2 separate regions of the Homo sapiens genome follow, and region 1 is linked to region 2. Evidence: promoter capture Hi-C in 16 types of primary human blood cells and fetal thymus (Javierre and others, 2016). All regions are on one chromosome and are shown on one strand. The core of a region is centred on a gene start or on the middle of the fragment in contact, and the rest is flanking DNA. Distances in the headings are between cores, read along the strand shown.

Region 1 (6,142 bases), core at 335-2,834, 1.1 Mb after region 2:
AACAAGAGGTTTAATTGTTTCCTTTTAGCAATTCCTGACTGGTGCCCATATCTGGGAGACACAAGACAGCATTTAACTCTTCCCAGATACACATAAGTGATCCTGATCGCCTGTGTGCTCTCCTCACTGCTGAGGTGCTGGACCCAAACATTACATCAGAACAGCAAAGCAATGTGGGAAGAAGAGCCCAGCTCTCCTTCATACACCACGCCCTAACCAGAAAGTGACATGCTGAAAAATAGAGAAGCCAAGGGCATGAGAAGGACCTAGGAAGGGCTACTGCTTTAGGTAAGAAAACAATATTTAAAGAAGCTGGAATCCACCTTTAGTTTCGATGAAGTGATGCAGGAGAGAAACAACAGAAGCAGGACTGGGGACTCCCATATTGGCTACCCTATTTTTGTTTGATTATTTCTCAGATATTTAGAACTTTCTAAGCCAACCTGGAGAGGGACGGGGTAAACTCAGCTCCTGACTCCTGAGCTTCAGTGCCTTCCTCTGGACACCTCATCTCAATCCAGATATTACAGGAAGCCAAATTTTCCTCAAACAGCCATCTATAAAAATCTGTATTTTCGACATCAGACTGGTCCAGGCTCACATCTCTCTCCTGGATTCTGTGCAGGGAGCGGAGGTAGACACAGGAAACAACCACAATGCACGGGGCCTCGCCTCTCACTCTGTGAGGCCCCGCCCACTCTGAGGCTGGGCTTGGCCACGTGACCTGCTTTGATGAATGAGACAACGGCTGGCAGGAGTCTGCAATGGCTGGGGCCGGGCCACACCTAGGCGCTGAGCTCCTGAAATAAGATCTTGGAACTCGTCTTCATGTGAAAGCATCCTCTAACCTTCTTAAGGCTAAAAGACCACCTGGAAAGAGATGCCCACTGTGCCTGCTGAGCACATTCCCAGCCTACCTCACCTGAATGCAGCCCGCGAGTGAACCCAGCAAGACCAGCGCAAGAGCCGAGGACAGCTCCAGAGTCGTGAGAATCCATACATTACGTGACTTTCAGCTAGGAAAATTCAGGGTGGCTGCTGATGCAGCAGCAGGTAATGCATACAGGATGCTCTGAACAGCTCTCCCAGCAAAGACCCACAGTCCACCCCATGTGGGGTAGAGAGGGGGAAAATCCCCTCCCCCATAGACTGTGGTTTCTGCTGGTGTCTGCAACTGCCATGGGGCGGCTGGAGGGCAGCCCTTTCCTTCTGAATCCAGCCTACATTTCATGCTCTCCATCTGCCTTCTCACCGGCTTGCATCCTCTTTCTATAGCACTAGAACTATCAAACCCATCAAGCTGCCCCCGGAGGGTGAGCCTTTCAAAAAATCTTAAACAGGTGCAGGACCAGGTGCACTCAGGATTGTGAGCAAATTTCTAGGTGCAGAACAGTCCAGACTCTCAGCCCAAAGTTCAGGCCAGGCCAGAGCCCACTTGCCTGCAGGAGGCACAAGGGAGGGTAGGGACAGGTTTAGATGCCAAGTACTCATCAGAGTTTCAATTTAAGGACACTCGGAAGCCATGGGAGGCTGTGAACCAAGGATCACAATCTGATTTGCTGCGGTGGGTAGGACAGCACAGGAGTGGAGGCACAGAGTAGAGTGAAGATTCCTCAAAGATCAGACAGTCACAAGACATCCATGAGCGTTCTCATAGCTGTGGCAATGTGAAGAACAAAAAAAAAAAAAAAGAAAGAAAATACAACTCAGAGAATTTTACAGGACTTTAATTATTATTGTCTGGGGAAAGATGAGGAATAGAGTGGAAACATGATATATGGACAGATACATAGATTTGATACATAGATATATACATAGATTAGATAGATGAGATCAATTGATCAATCAATAGGTATGTCAGGCACTGCACTATCAACTCACAAGCATTTGATTTAGTTTTCCTGACACTAAATCTATTTGTTCAAAATACTCACTCCCTGTACCCCACTCTCCATGGCAAAGTGCACTTCTGCACCACTTCCTTTGGGCTGGGCCGTGTGATTTGCTTTAACCAAAGGAGTTTAACCAAAGGTGTGAAGTAACCAGAAGTTTGAAACAAGTTTGTGCAATTCAGCTTGCCCTCTTGCACCCTGCTCTTGCCATGCGAGAATATGAAAAATGTCAGCTATCTCCTTGGAGAAGGATCACAGATGTGGAGCAGAGCCAGCTCAGACAATCCCATTCCAGGTCAGTGACTCCCAGCTGGACTGCAGATGTGAGCAAAATAACTGGTCATTGCCATAGGCCAATGAGATCATGCAGTTCCTTATTACACAGCCTATTGTAATCATTGTCATTCCTGTTTTACAAATCAGGAAACAGAAGCACCAAGAGAATGAATATCTTGTCACAAATATATCTCTTGTCACAGCCATGGGCAAGGATGGGGCTACTAACACAGATGGGGACACTAGTCGAAGGGTAGGTCTATGGGCAAAATGAAGGTCAATGGACATACAGAACTGGTGATGCCTGCAGGACATCCAGTGATAACATCATGGGCAGGGCAATGAGGAGCTTCACTGCTGGAAGCCTGAGCTTGGTTGAGATGACTCAAGATAATTGCAATAGGGTCAACACTCTCACAATAAAAGAGAGAGAGCTCAACTATGAATATAAAAAGGGCAAGTGAGGATATATAGCCAAGGAGCAGGGAGCAGGGTTAATAGATTAAAAAAAATTACTAAGCAGAGACATCAAATGTGGGAGTTTCTTGCTAAATTGACCTAACAATATTCTTGCTAAAGGCAGGACAAAGCCTTAGACATCAAAGTTGAGAAATGAGGAACTTGGTCAGATGTTGAGGGTGATCAGATACCAAGGGTGAGGGGATTCTTTCTGAACTGACTTAGCAGGATTCTTTCCTAAACCTGGGCACTGCAGCCCTCGCAAGAGCAGGAGGTAGGGGCTGGGGACTAGGGTTGAGGCCAAGGGAAGAAGGTGGCTCAGACGAGCTTAACTAAGGTTTGGTCAAGGTGAGTCTTATCTCTGGATCCAGCCCCTCTGTGACAGGAGGAAAGGGCAGGCAGGGCCACAGGAGCAGGCAGGGCTGTCCTGATGGCCTCTGGCTCCAGCTCCAGCACTCAGTGATTGAGTTGAACAGGATTCCAACCAGGAACAGGAACCACTCTCCACAGTCACTGCACTTTGCTAAAGGAATTGATATTTAAGGTTACACAAACAGTGACAGGGAAATCCCAGCAGTGACCCAAACAGGATAAGAAAGTCTGACCACCCAGAGATGCCAAGGGGATTGCTCTCCCGCTCAGAGCCATCTGTTTCCCTTGAGGCCAGTCCCCTGCAGTCTGCAGCCCAGGGAGTCAGGCGCAGCCCAGCCTGCCCCAGCTAGCAACCCGAGTTCCTGGAGGCCTCTCCCTGTCCTCTTCACTAGGCTGTGTGGTTCTTCAGTCACTGGCTCTGCTCTGGTGAATGCACTCCTTGAGAAAGTCAGTGGTAACTTATAATCCAAAACCACGAGCACTGTTCATATACTGGTCCCTGAGCAGAAATGTCCCAAGGATTCTCTTTTCCCCATGAAGCTCAAAACAGTCAGACCTCAGACACTGGGCTCTGCCCTCTCGTCACATTCGGCAGGGGCTGTCAGCAGCCTTCCCCATGAGTATCACAGTTTCCCAATGATGTGGCATCATCTCAAAACCAAATGAGATACCAACATTGGCCCATGGTCTAGAAGCATCTGGTGGGGAGGGAGAAGGAGGGAGGGTGTGTGTAAGGGAAGGCTTGACCCCAGAGAACTCCAGGCACTCTATAAAGGAAGCTTCTGGGCTTCCCCTTTGAGAAACCAGCAAATCAAGTGGCTGCTCTGTCCAAGCTCCTACCATAGATGCTGAATGTTAATTTCTCAAAACCCAAATGTGCAGAATCTCAACTCTTGGCCAACTTGTCCTGACCACTTGCACCTTTAGTAGATGTTTATGTGCTTGATGATTTATTATAGCATTGTTTAGTGTTCACTTATTATTGCTTATTTATTATAGAGAACTTCTGCCACTCACCTAAATTCTCACTAATTCAGATCATGAGATCAATAGTACCCCACACAGCCTGGGAGAACACAGCTTTCTTTTTCATCACCTGGCAGAAGGGAAACATGCCCCCTCCTGTGCAGCTGGACTTCTCCAGGTTACCTGGGTGCTGGAGGCCCCAGGCTCAGTCCTGGGTCCATTGTTTCTCTCTGGGTCCCTATTACCTTGTCCTTGAAGCTGTAGGTTACAGGAATCAAGGCATACACAGCTGTGTCATGTTTTATTTTTTTTAAGATGGGGTCTATGCTGCACAGTTTCCCTATGTTGTCCAGGCTGGTCTGGAACTACAGGGCTTGAGGGGATCCCCCGTCATAGCCTCCCCAGTAGCTGGGATTACAGGTGCACCACCACATCATGCTACTGAGTCATTTTCAATCATGCTTAAATGTCACTCCTGAAGCCCGCTTATCTTGCTGCTTCTGAACTGTCAGACACTACTGTTTACAAAGCCGCCCACCTCTCCAGATGCATGATGCAGAGAAGGCAAAACATTTGCCTAAGGTCACCAAATATCTGGAGCAGCTGTCCAGCTACCCTAACCTTCCACTTCCCATCACCCGCACTGGACTTGGCTCCCGTAGCTCCTGAGAGTGCCCACCAATGCTGTCTGTCCTGTTAGGATTACAGCAGTCATTGATCAGGACAGCTGGCCCTCCCTGCAGCACATGCTAGTGTCCTGACAGAGGATGACCATAGGTAATGTCATCACATTCAGGGGTGCAGGTCAGCACTCCAGCCCCTCTTCCCCCACATTCCACTCACCACTACCCTCCCCCTATCTGGGTGACCTGCACCTTCTTCCTAGTGATAGAAGTTAGGAGATTTGTGATTATTTAATCTTACCCTCTGTACAACACATCTTCCTGAGATTGGAGCCCCAGTGGCTTCAAGAAGCTGGGGGCCACAGAGAAGAACCAACCCCCACACTTGGGAGATGACCATTGTGCTTGGAAGTACCTGGCCAGGGGCTGACCCCTCTTTCTCTTATCTGTGGAGCTCCCAGTCTTTCTTGTCTAACTAGGAGGCATCATGCGCTGCCCTGTTTGAGGGCCTTCCTTCCCTCACCCAGCAGTAAACACCATCCCTGGGCCTCCTACTGTATCTGCTGGGGTGCACAGCTTTTCTAGGGGTGCTGGATTCACAGTGGGTGAGAGGGTCACTTGGCCTTGGGTAACAAGTTTCCCAATCTTAACAATGAATATGAGCATCCGTAAGTAATATTGTTCCCACTGCCGGGTTCCTGCTGATCCAGCCCCAGCCATGGCTGAGACCCAGGATTACAGCAGGTCTGGGCTGACACTGGCCAACCCTCACCTCCACCACTCCCAGGAGAGTCCTCTGGGTCCCTGGCAAAGGCCCAGAATTTCCTGGCGTTTCTGGCCAAGGCTGCCACTTCACCATAAGGGATTTGCCACAGGGTCACCTTTAGGCATGGAGGGTGGGGTTGAGAGAACAAAGGGAGCAGCTGTCTGTTCAGAGCCTCCTTCCACCCTCCCCACTCCTGGAGTCACATTCCAGCCCAGGCCCGCAGCCATCCGAGCTGGGGACTTTGTCACCCCACAGAGCACCCAGCTGACCCATCTCCTCATCTGGGGAGAAGGAGAACTCACAATCCTGGCAATGAAGCAACTCAGGGCTCGCTGGAAAGCCACGCTGAGCAAAGGACAAAGACACACATGGGCTCTCTCTGCAGGACTCCATTCCTGGGAAGCTCAAGGACAGGTGACAAAGGAGTCTACAGGGCTGGATAGGGGCTGCCAGGGTGGGGTGGGCACGAGAGTGGGCTTGAGAGGCAAGAGGATACCATCTGGGGCAAGGCAGATGTCACAGGTCTGGACAAAGTGGTAACACAGGTATATGCATTTATGAAATCCCCCAAGTTGGGCACTTGCAATTGGGCATTTTATTGTATGTAAATCCGACCTCATTCACTGTAATGTCATAAAGTCAGATGAGTTTTCCAAGCAGTGAAGAGAGGAAAGGAGCCCGAAGTGTGGCTCCCACATTCATCCCGCGGCTGCTGATCCCTGTACTGCCAACTCTTACCACCTGCCAGGGGGTCTCCCTGCACCTTCCACTTGGCCCCACCCCCAGTT
Region 2 (6,130 bases), core at 299-2,798:
AAAGTGCCTTGAAGACAAAGAGGAAGATGTTCTGCTTGGGAAACTGGGAGAAGAATTTTCAGCAAGGATACTTGAAGTGGGTCCTGAATGATAAAAATAATTGGCCAAGTGGAGGTGAAGGAGAGTGTATCACAGGAAGAAGGAACCTCAAGGACAAAGGCAGCCAGGCATGAGATTAGACATGTTAAGCCATCCTGAATGTCTGAAATGGGGGGTGGGGAGCAAGAGGGATAGTCCAGACAGGCAGGAAGGCGTGAGATCATACAGTACTTTGTTAACACTATCCCTGATTTAATAGCTGTATTGGCTATTCTCAATGACACAGAATGAAGTAAAATGTTGTCGAGGCCTGAATTATTACCTGGGATCTCTGGAGAACTGGATTTGCACAGCTCTCCACTTCCCTCAAGCTGGTTCTTCCGCTCTTTGAATGAATAAATAAAAAGCATTCACATGGAATTCTAGTGCCATCTAGCATTTAAAAAGGTAAAAGCCTCCAAGAGGAAATTATTTCTTAACACTGCATTTTGAACATGGCTTTTCCAGAGATAATTCCTCGTGCCACTGGTAACGGGCTTTGATTTCTTCTGCCTGTCACTTCCTCCAGATTCGATTCCTCTTTGAATCTCAAATGCTCTCACAAGATTCAGCTCTTCCCTTTTGAAGCAATTATTACGTTTGATAATTTTACGTCTATTTTATGATGATGATCTGATTAAAGTCATCTTTCCCACTAGTTTAATTTCTATAAGGAGGGGCCTTGTCTGTGATTTGCCCACCATCGTCTCCCAGCACCTGGGAACATTTCTGGTTTCCTGCAATACTGTTGAAAGAACAATGCCTCTCTATGCTTTCTTAAACTTTGTTAGTGATAATTTCTACTTCTACCTGGACTTTACTTAAGGGTAATCCTTAATAAACTTTATCAAAACTTAATAAACTTTATCAAAACTTAATAAACTTTATCAAATGTCTGTTGTAATCGTCACAAAAAGATTTAATACTCAACATCTGGCCTTAACCAGAGGGAAACATTTTCTAGCCCAAGTTTTCCCCTTAACCGGCTGAGTCGGGGAAGGATGTAATTTTCAGGCAGAGGTGACTTCGTTCCAAGGGTGTGAATGCATTATTTTTGACGCTGCCTGTAAGAGCAGGGTCGCTGACACTGAATAAACAGCGCTATCCTCTCCAACGATAAAAGTGGCCAACATCTCGTGCTAGCAATTCCCAAGTGCGTCATGAGCATCCCCGTCCTCAGAAACGTGAGACGAAGGCGGCATGCGCAGGCACTGGGCTAGACGAGCCCGAGGTTGAACCACTCGCGTTCTGGGCCCCGGAGTCCGAGACAGGCGGGGACCCCGGCAGCTCCCGGTGCTATCTCTGAGCGGGTTCCGAGCCCCACTTCCGGGCGGTCAGAATTAGCCTCAGAGCGCCGAGCAACGACGCGCCGGGGACCTCCCGCCCATGAGGCCGGAAGGGGCGGGGAGAACGCTGCGGAATGGTCCCTGGGCGCAACGTCATTTCCGCGTACGGGGGAGGGCGGGCCTGGAGTCTGAGCCGGCGCCGCTCAGTGTGAGGTGGTTTCTGCGGGTGAGGCTGGCGCCCGTACCATGAGCGAGGCGGACGGGCTGCGACAGCGCCGGCCCCTGCGGCCGCAGGTCGTCACAGACGATGATGGCCAGGCCCCGGAGGCTAAGGACGGCAGGTAGGGCGGACTCCCAGACTGGGCGCTGGAGCCGGGCCGCTAGGAGTGGAGGGCGACCCTCTTGGACAGCGGCGACGGCAGTAACAGTAACCTGGGGATGCGGTGCCGAGCGCGTTGTCAGAGTCCTCTCGTTTCATCCCCAAGAAAAACTCATTTTTCCGAGGAAGCAGGCTCCGACAAGGCGGATGTACCTGCCAGGTCTTTCAGGTTCGGGTGCACCCTGCGCCCAGTCGCCGCGTTGTCCTCGGCTCTCCGGACCCGAGACCGCCTCGCGCCGCTCCTTTGCCTTCCCTCCCTCACTCCTGCCCCACCCTGCATAGCGGTTGCTTCCTCGCCTTTCCCTCGCTCCCCTCGCGCTGTCCTTCCTTTGGCTTAAATGATCCCCCTGAGCACAGCTACTTGGCCGGGGCCCTGCGTGTTCCTGGTTCCCCGCTCGCAATTTCCCGAAGGGAGGAGGTCCCACGAGATGCTGGGGTCCTGCCTCGTTATCCGGCGAAGAGATGGCTTCTACACTTGCTCTTCTGCACCTGCCCCCCTCACGCTGCGTGACCAGTCCTCACCGCGGTTCTTGGAAAGAGTGGAGAACAGTAGTGACATTGTAGGCAATTTTTGTGAGAATTCAGCCTGGCAGTTTTTCCTGATAGGGATGGAGAAACATAGGAAACTGTAGTTGTTGACACCTAAGAAATATCAGGTTTTGCCCTTTGCCTCCTCTCCCATCTTTCAGAATATAAGAATGCTGTGTTTTGTTAGCTAAAAACTGAATCATGATTCGTAAGCATAGATTTCAATATAAGATACTTAAAATTCACTTTTCAATTCTGTGTCCTGAATTTCATAACTTTTAAGTTTCAGGGAGAATCAAGAGGCCCCATAGACCAAGCTTGAAGTTGTGGGACTGATTGACTTATATTTGATAGAAATACTGGAAATATTTGTTCATCAGTAGTGTGCCAAGAGGTGGTGGGGTACATATGAATGAGAGGCAGTTTTTGCCCCTGTAGACTGAGTTTATTGACTGATGATAAGAGGAACACATTTGAAGGAGAGCGATGGCAGGAAGGAGCATTTAGGCTCTAGAGAGGCAATTTAGAGAGAAGACTTTGCGGTGATAGTTGACTCCTTGGGCCAGTGAAAAGATCGGGAAGATGCTCCCATATATCCTGACCAACCATCCTGCGTTGCCCTGGACTGGGGTTTCCAAGGATGTAGAACTTTCAGTGCTAAACCTGGGCAAACTGGGACAATCTGATCACCCTACTTACTGTGAATATTGTGAATTAATCATCTGTTGATGATTGAGGAGCCATTTAGAATGGACATGCAAGAATTGGCAACACTTTCCTACAGAAATCTTGAAAACAAGGCATTTTTACCTGAGAAATGGAAGAGCAGTGGCCTGAGTTTGTCATTAGGTGCAGTGTGTTGAAAACCAGGGCCTACAGCCCCTGAGGGCACCGGTTAGGTAGTCCCAACTCTCAAGTTGGCTGGCTCACACTTCTGGCCCCAGGGCAAGCAGGCAGACTTAATTGTTTTTTTCAGGTTCTCTGTGGGGATTTCTTCCTTAATGAGTAAGTAAATCTGATTCTAAAGTCATCTTTTACTGCCTGATCTTTTCCAGTGTGCCTTTTACATTTATGTTTACTTATTTCCTTGACTTCCCTGTCCATGAACATTGTTCCTGTTTCCCTGTGTTTGTCCTTCTTGTTTGTTTATCCCTTTTCTGTATATCTGTAATGATCTCTTTCAAAGTGAGGTCTTGTCACCACCCTTCCTTTCCGCAATTATTATTGTAACATGGTAGCTGTTTTTCTTATTTTTCTTCTGCATTTCTCCTATATTTTTCATTTATTTTGTGGTCATTTCTAGTAGTTCATGTAATAGTATTCTTGATTACCTTAAAAGTCGAGGGTTCAACATAAGCCAGGAAAGCCTGTGTATAGTGGGCGAAGTAAAGGAATCTAAATTCAGAAGTAAAAACACGAAACTATTAGAATAAACTTTAGCACTTTAGATGTGCTAAATAGAATAAAGGAAGCCTTGAAAGACATATTACTAAACTGACAGAACTAAGACATAGATTTTAGCAGTGGTAGGGACCCCTAGTAATACGTTGGGTGGTCTCCCAACTCTTGGCACAAAAGGTGGGTGTTTGCTTTGTTTTGCTGATGAGATCATTGAGGTCTATGTGTGTGAGGTGGTTTATATGAAGTTACAGAGAATAGAGTCAAAAGAGAAATGAAAATGAATGAAGAAGGATAGAACTGGCAGCTGGACAATGACTGAGAAGTGTATTTTTAAAATTATGCTTTGGAAATAAGACTTTATGCCAAAGCTCTTGAATTACTGTATTTGAAATATAATGGAGAATTTGGTTGGTAAATTCTTTTATTCAGTGTGGAACATAGATGAGCTAAGTACTTTAACATACCGGTGCAAGCTTATAATTATTATTTGACATTGATTTCCCGAAATGCTTTAGAAACTTAATTGTACTCTGTGGAACTATTCCTTTCTGTTTGAAACACAGTTCTATCTAGGAAGAGAACTGTTTAATGTCCATATGTGACTGTTTAGGGATGCAGAATAAATACATTGAGGATTTAATATGTTTCAATACATTAAATTCTGTATAATTCTCCTTTTTCAATAAACTTCTGAAGGATTTTAGTTTAATTAAAAGTCTGCTAGGTCCATTTTCCTTTTTCCTCTTGGAGACTGAAGAGTAAGGGAGGAAGTATGGAGAAACAGATTGGGCATTCACGAATTCATGAGGAGTAAGGCAGCTGGAGTGTTTGTCTCAGCTTTGCCCCAGGTGTGTATTTTCAGATGGCTTTTTAAACTTGTTTCTTGATTTCTTAATTTTTTTCAAGGATAAATTGATGAATCTAGGAGCCCCAGTTTAAAGGATTGTGAAAAATGAACAAATTCAAGATGCTGTCACTAAAAAAGATGGGTTGATGCTATCTGATTTTCTCAGGTTCCAGGGATCACCTTGACACATGAGGTTGCTGGTACCCCATGGATTTGGGGCTATCAGGTTTTCCACAACAATCACAGGTGAATTTTGATCTCTTGGAGTCTGCTTGTTGGGACTTCAGTTCAGGACCCAAGGCCCTAATGTCCTGTGTGCAGAGTTAGAGGATACCCTTCAAAATCTGCCAAATTGGCTGGTGAATCTACAGAAGATTGTGTAAATCATGGCCCAGCCAACAGCAGTTGTCAAATCCTGTTGCATCACTGTGGTTGTGCTCTTGCCTTCAGAGAGTGTAGGCAATTTCAGGGTGCAGATGTCCTCATGGAGATGGGCATCCCTCCAGGCTCTTCCGAGAGATTGGGGCAAACAAACTGATTTCTCAAACTGCGCCTGGGAACTAAGTTGCCAGCGTTCCTGGATGTGTCAGCACAGGTTGGGAACCTGCAATGCTTTGTCAGTGAAAATGGATAGGGATCGATACAGTGTTCTTTATTTAAGTTAAAAAAAGAGTAAGAGGGAGGCAGACACCGAGAAAAGACAGAAGAATTGTGGTTAACTGTGAGTTTACAGGAAGCAACACTGATGAGGGCCTGCCGAAAAGTTAATGGACCTTGGGCTAAAATAAGTGTGGCACCCAGAGCAGGGGTCCAGGAGCTGTGCTTACCTCATTTATATAACAAGCTAACTCCATTTCAAGTGCTCAGGAACCACACATGGCTAGTAGCTATTGTATTTCCATCGTTGCAGAAAGTTCTATTGGACAGTGCAGCTCAAGGAGTTTTGTTTAAATTTAAGCTAGTATTTCTAATACGTGACCACAGAACTTTCCAGTGGAGGCTGGATGCTGATCAGGTGAGGTTGAGGAGGTGTTGGTGAAGTCTGACTGGGAAGGGAGCTGCATAGAGTTAGTGGTGTCCAGCTGCACATGAGGAACAACCGATGAAAGAGTTCGCAGGCCCACCCTGTACCTACCAAAGCAGAATCTCTGGCCCAGGTCATCTTGATGTAGCCCATCCAGGAGTTGGCTGCCTTTGGGAACAGTAGACTGAGTGGCCTCTAAATTCTTCTCCAGCTTTAGGAGAGTGTTACTGGTATGGTAGATCCCGCAGCATTGGGACACAAATCTTTGTCAATGGACTTTTGGCCTCCTTTCTGGCTGTAAGCCCCGTGGCTTTCAGTCCTGGCTGGACTTTTTGTTTGGGACATAATTGAGCCTCTAACTATTGTGTGAAGGGGCAACCAGGTATTTAAATGGGGTGCCACCAGCTCTGAATCAGATTACCACATCAAGATTTTAAAAATATAAGCTGCAGTGTGGTAAAGTAGAGGTCACAATGTTGGAGTCAAGACAGATGAGGAAAATCTGCCTTAGGTAGAATGATGTTAGGCAAGGAAAAAGTAGCGTTTTGGCAAGATTGTTACTGTTTATAATGAAGGTCATGAGGTGA

What was found. Contacts are between HindIII fragments. The CHiCAGO score rates a contact against its expected background, and 5 or more counts as called.
Region 1: a fragment that was not itself captured here is called in contact with the fragment with the promoter of APMAP in region 2 in 3 of 17 cell types (non-activated CD4 T cells, naive CD8 T cells and activated CD4 T cells); the score reaches 6.9 in non-activated CD4 T cells.

What each region holds. Positions count from the first base shown.
Region 1 is chr20:23,923,525-23,929,666 of GRCh38, reverse strand. No RefSeq gene overlaps it. Among named protein-coding and RNA genes, the nearest start is that of CST5, 47 kb to the right of the region's middle. The HindIII fragment of the contact is 4,392 bases long and covers 1-3,780 here.
Region 2 is chr20:24,988,169-24,994,298 of GRCh38, reverse strand. It overlaps APMAP (adipocyte plasma membrane associated protein), which reads left to right and starts at 1,548. Exons shown (of 9, transcript NM_020531.3): 1 at 1,548-1,705. The coding sequence starts at 1,611. RefSeq lists enhancers at 994-1,494, 1,407-1,646, 1,777-1,856, 1,877-1,936, 1,495-1,995. The HindIII fragment of the contact is 12,703 bases long and covers 1-2,590 here.